2 separate regions of the Homo sapiens genome follow, and region 2 is linked to region 1. The links are contacts of gene promoters, found by promoter capture Hi-C in blood cells and fetal thymus (Javierre and others, 2016). All regions are on one chromosome and are shown on one strand. Each heading gives the region's core, a stretch centred on a gene start or on the middle of the fragment in contact. The rest is flanking DNA. Distances are from core to core; before and after follow the strand shown. Region 1 holds the start of TRMT6 (tRNA methyltransferase 6 non-catalytic subunit). Region 2 overlaps CDS2 (CDP-diacylglycerol synthase 2).

Region 1 (2,843 bases), core at 66-2,565:
TAGCCGAGTGTGATGGTGCCAGAGTCCCAGCCACTAGGGAGGCTGAGGCAGGAGAATCGCTTGAACCTCGGAGGCAGAGGCTGCAATGAGCCGAGATTGCACTACTGCCCTAAAGCCTGGGTGACAAAGCAAGACTCCGTCTCAAAAACAAAAACACTGTGGTTGTATTTCTCAGATAAATTAATCCAAATATCCCAATAAATTTTCACCATTAATAAGCTCTTAGGACTTAACAACCTCACCAGCCCTTCCAGAAAGTTATCAAAATCCCACTTCTTTACTTCTATAAAACAGAGCGATACTAGCCAGCAGGTGCACAAACCAAACCTAATTTGGAGTTCTGAGGCCTTGAGCAAATTGCTTTTTAGCAATTTTCCCAGCGTTGAATCCTTTGGTGAGTAAAACGAGGGAAACTCAAAGTGATTCCACACTCTGTGGTGAATTGTCTCCTTCATCTATTCTGTGTATCCTGCTTGGGTAGAGAAGAGGATAGAAAGCCAGACTAGGTAGGAGACGTTTCATTTTTTGTGGGATAGATCCTGACTGGGGGATTAGGGAAGAAGGAGGATCTATGGTGGAAAAAAAGGGGGAACCTGAAGGAGACTCTGGAGACAAGGATGAGATCCTAAAGTGAAGAAAGGAGGGGGTGTCTCTGGAAAGACAGTGAAGATCCCAAGGTCCTAGGGAAAGAACTTCAGGACAGGTGATTAGGGTGTGGAGAGGGAGGCATTGGCACCCTAGGGCCAAGAATGGAATTCTGGGGAAGGAACTCTGTGGAAAGACTGAAAAGGATGCTGAAGGTGGACGGCCAGATATGAAATCATGGAGGGGGCTCCGGGAAAAACAGGAGGGTTAAGGGAGATTATGAGGTTCGAAGACGGGATCCTGGTGGAAAAGCCTTCTGTGACAGAAAGACCCGAGGAGACAACGAGGGCGGGGAATGGGGACCGAGAGAGCCAAGAATGGCACCCTGGCGGAAGAATTCTGTGGAGAAACCTGGAGGGAGGGGGTATCTACAAGGTGGGGGCGGGAGACCCCTAAAATCAGCGATCTGACTTACTTTCTCCGCTGGACTTGTACTGCTTTAAACACATCTTCACGTTTCAGCACCACGAAGTCGCCGTCGCGGATGCGGTGGTCTCCGGGATGCTGTGGTTGTGGGCCCGGCTGCTCCCCTGAGCCCTCCATGACGCTCAGCCGGTCGCCGTGCTCCACGGCGTCCCGCCCCTCCTCCTCGGTTGTCGCCACCGCCAGCCTCACTTCCCACAACCTGGCGCACTAGGAGCCCTCCGACCGGCACCGCCCCCACGTGTTGCACGCCGCTTCCGCTTTCCGGCCCAGACCTCAAGACCGCTTCCGGAAGCCTCTCGGCTTCCGTCTGGCCAAACTCCTTGATTGGCTGCACTCCGCCCCGCCCCTCTCGTCTTGCCGCTTCTTTGAGCGGAAGTTGGATCACTGAAGCGCCAAAAAAGAATTTAGGGGAAGACCTGATTTTCGCTTGAGGCATTTTTGCGGCGCTGTGCGCTACAGACACCTTCTGGAAGCTGCGGTGGGGAAACTGAGTTTCCCGAGCCGTTGAGACAGATGGGGTTCAGCACCGCGCGGGGACGACAGGAAAGCTGCGGCTGAAGAGAACTGCGGACTTGGCAGGAGTCGCCTGAGGAGCTAAGATCCCGGAGACTCTTAGCCCCGTGGTGCTTCTCTACGGGAGGGAGGGAGGGAGAATCCGGCCGGACAGATCTGCGCGTATCCTGGAGCCGGCCCAGTTGTGAACTAGGAGAGCTTTGGGACCTCTGTCCCAAGCAAGTAAGAACTTTAGCCTTAGGAGATGTAAATAAAGTAGTATTTGAAGAAGCACAGGTACCCAACTGTTTCTTTTTACTCTTTCTCCAGTCCTACTTCTTAACGTTTTTTTGAATTTGTTACTGTTCTCAGCATATTGTCTCGTTTGAGAAGGGTATGGCACGCAGCGTTGTTGAAGGAGCGCCTCAGCTTGGGAGGCTGAAAGTTTTATCTCTGTACTGTCGACAAACAACTTTGATCTTGATCGGTTTGCTTAATTTCTTTGAGCATCAGTTTCATAATGTGTAATGCCTAATTATTGGAGCCCTGTCATGCCGTTAAATCGTGAACTTTCTAGTTACTATCTTGTTTTATTAACTAAACCCCTTTTAAGTAAGGATTTGGGTAGAGTATTTGATAATGAATTGCACTGCAGCGTACAGGTATATCTTTATTTACTTGTATACTTAGGATATGAATCATTTTTAAGTAGACGTGTATTTTATAAGAACAGTTTTGGATTTACAGAAAAACTGCACAAAAAATGGATGTGACACTGCAGGATTGACTGTATGTAAGAAGCTATGATGATGTATCCCTAGTGTCTCACAGGCCAGAATTATGTTCATCCTGTCCTGCCCTATAATAAGAAGTCTCAAATACTGCAAATAAGTTTTCATAGAGTTAATTACCTGTCCTATTTTCATTTCTGTAATGGGGACTTGTAAACAGGTACAGTACCTGTCCTTATTTTTAACCTGTGAGCGTCTAGTATACGTAAACCATATTTAATAGTTATTAAACTATTATGGTATACCTTAAAAAGCGATAGAGATTAGAAACTTAACTGCAGAATATTTGGGTCTTGTATCATAGCTGTACAACTTTGCAAGCCTGTTTGCTACTCTTGAACCTAGAATACATTAATTTTTCCCTTTTTATTAATACATTTTTAAGAGCACTATTTTCCTTACAGTTTTGGTGAAGACCTTTTTAATATCTATCTTTTAGGAGAGATGAATGGAGAGTATAGAGGCAGAGGATTTGGACGAGGAAGATTT
Region 2 (2,726 bases), core at 110-2,609, 760 kb before region 1:
GCAGATCTCTTGAGGTCAGGAGTTCCAGACCAGCCTGGGTAACATGGCGAAACCCCGTCTTTACTAAAAATACAAAAAAATATAGCTGGGGATGGTGGCGTGTGCCTGTAATCCCAGCTACCAGCTACTCAGGAGGTTGAGTTGCTTGAACCCAGGAGGCGGAGGATGCAGTGAGCCAAGATCGCACCACTGCACTCCAGCCTGGGTGACAGAGTGAGACTGTCTCAAAAAAAAAAAAAAAAAGAAAAGAAAAATGACTGACAGTAATTGTTACCAAGGATAAAATTTGGCTTTCAAATGAAAATTAGAATTTTGGAAAGCTTAACCTGCCACTGTGAACTTGACAGCTTCCTAATACTTAAAAGCCTTTTCTGATGAGGTCTGTGATGATTCTTAACGTACGTGTGTGTGTGTGTGTGTGTGTGTGTTGATCACATGAGAAAAAACACAAACATATTTGACACGGTATAATGAAATGTGTCTACATTTGGAAGATTTACATAACTCAGTGAACCATTATTTTCTAAATGGCTGATGCATGGTGTTATATAGTCATGCATGGGTAAAAGATCCGTTCAAGTATAAGATAGACCAATGGATTTTAATGTAAGAGAGAACAAAGTCCATTGATAGAATTCTAGATTCCATATCACACCTAATATTCAAGAAATGACTACTTGTCAAGCTCTGGTGTAGTGTCAGAGAATACCCAAAACCATCTGAGGCTACGACTAAAATACTCTTTTCAACTATGTATCTGCGTACGGCTGGATTTTCTTTATATACTTCCACCAAAACAGCATGTTGCAACAGATTGAATGCAGAATATTTTAATGTTTTCCATTAACTTAGATATTAGAAATTTACAAAATGGGAAAAATTCACTCCTCTTATTGATTTAAAACCTACATGTATATAATTAGTTTCATAAAGAGTTACGAGGTTGGATGTCTTGGTCTGTCTAGTGTTGATAGAACACTTGGGGCTGGGTAATTTACAAAGAAAAGAGGTTTACTTAGCTTCTTTCTGCAGGCTGAGAAGTGTGAGAAGTGTGGCATTGGCTGCTGCCTGGCTTCTGGTGAGGGCTTTTTATGCTGCATTGTAACATGGCGGAGAAGGTCAAAGGTGGAAGCAGACACATGCAAAGAGGCAAAACCAGGGGCTTCATCACTTCATAACAACCCATTCCCTCGGGATGCCAGTGCTAATCTAGTCTCTTGACAGAACTCACTACTAGGAGAAAGGCACCAAGCCATTCATGAGGGATTTGCCCCTGTGACCCAAACACCTCCCACTAGGCATCACCTCCCAGTGAGGCCACAATGAGGATCAAATTTCAACATGAGTTGACAACTCAAACCGTAACACTGGGCATGTATGCACCTAAACTTTTACTTCATTTACTCTTCTCAGAAAACGGTCCGGATGTACCCCTTCCAGATTCACAGCATCGCTCTCTCCACCTTTGCCTCGCTCATTGGCCCCTTTGGAGGATTCTTCGCAAGTGGATTCAAACGAGCCTTTAAAATCAAAGTAGGAAAACCGTCTTACGTTCCTCTCATCTCACTCCCTCACCCATCTTCTGCCTTTCTCCCCCTTCCCTGCCCCCTCCAAAATACTAGGCTGTACACCCTGGCATTTAATGTGTGATCTTGACCCATGCACTGAATTTAGGTGAGTTAATTAATAACAATATTTTCAGGAAAATGCAATCGTTGTTTTTCAGTTTATTTGTTAATATATCTTTCTTCAAAAGAACATTTTGGGCCAGGCAGTGGCTCATGTCTGTAACCCCAGCACTTTAAGAGGCCAAGGCGGGAGGATCACTTGAGGCTAGGAGTTAGAAAGTAGCCTGAGCAACATAGCAAGACTCCTGTCTTTATTAAGTAAATGAAATAAGAACATTTTGTAATGCAATAAAATTGTGTCCTAATATAGCCTCACCATTAGATTTCATACTTCTCACCTTCTATTGCCCTCAGCTACTCAGCACAGAAGCCTGACATTGGGGTGGGACCATTAGGCTGGGATTGGTTAGTGGCTGAGCCCAAGTTCACCCATCCTTCCCCTGCCTCTAACAGGACTTTGCCAATACCATTCCTGGCCATGGAGGCATCATGGATCGCTTTGACTGCCAGTATCTGATGGCCACCTTTGTCAATGTATACATCGCCAGTTTTATCAGGTATAGTACCTTTCCATCTGAACCAAGTTGGTGGATTTTTAAGTACGGTGCAATTCTAGAATTTTAGCGGCATCTAAGTTCCAGTGAAAAGCATCCCAAATAATGCAGTTTTCAGTTGTTTCTGCTTACAGATTTTCTGAGGCCTCCTGTCATCTGTTAATAGATAACTCTCTGATCCAGAGATCAGAGCAGCCACTCAGATAATCAGGCCCTGGAAGCTTCCGGGCCCTAGCTCAGTGCTGTTTCTTCACATTCTGTTCCAGAGGCCCTAACCCAAGCAAACTGATTCAGCAGTTCCTGACTTTACGGCCAGATCAGCAGCTCCACATCTTCAACACGCTGCGGTCTCATCTGATCGACAAAGGGATGCTGACATCCACCACAGAGGACGAGTAGGGGCCACCCAGGGCCAGGAGAACAGGAACAGAACTGAGCAGGGGCAGGTCTCCAAGGCAAGCCCAGCTGGTGTGACTTAGACAATGACGAGGCTTCAACTCACTGTCTTTTTTTTTTTTTTTTGGAGGGTATTTTTTATTTGTGG

Evidence for each region. The method cuts DNA at HindIII sites, captures the fragments that hold promoters and counts their contacts. A CHiCAGO score of 5 or more calls a contact.
Region 2: a fragment that was not itself captured here is called in contact with the fragment with the promoter of TRMT6 in region 1 in 1 of 17 cell types (M0 macrophages); the score reaches 5.3 in M0 macrophages.

The regions. Positions count from the first base shown.
Region 1 is chr20:5,949,218-5,952,060 of GRCh38, forward strand. It overlaps TRMT6 (tRNA methyltransferase 6 non-catalytic subunit), which reads right to left and starts at 1,316. Exons shown (of 11, transcript NM_015939.5): 1 at 1,061-1,316. The coding sequence starts at 1,188. It overlaps MCM8 (minichromosome maintenance 8 homologous recombination repair factor), which reads left to right and starts at 1,435. Exons shown (of 19, transcript NM_032485.6): 1 at 1,435-1,806; 2 at 2,794-2,843. The coding sequence starts at 2,799. RefSeq lists an enhancer at 1,312-1,451. The HindIII fragment of the contact is 3,685 bases long and covers 1-2,843 here.
Region 2 is chr20:5,187,654-5,190,379 of GRCh38, forward strand. CDS2 (CDP-diacylglycerol synthase 2) reads left to right here. Exons shown (of 13, transcript NM_003818.4): 11 at 1,414-1,533; 12 at 2,082-2,185; 13 at 2,449-2,726. The coding sequence ends at 2,581. Among named protein-coding and RNA genes, the nearest start is that of CDS2, 62 kb to the left of the region's middle. The HindIII fragment of the contact is 2,083 bases long and covers 319-2,401 here.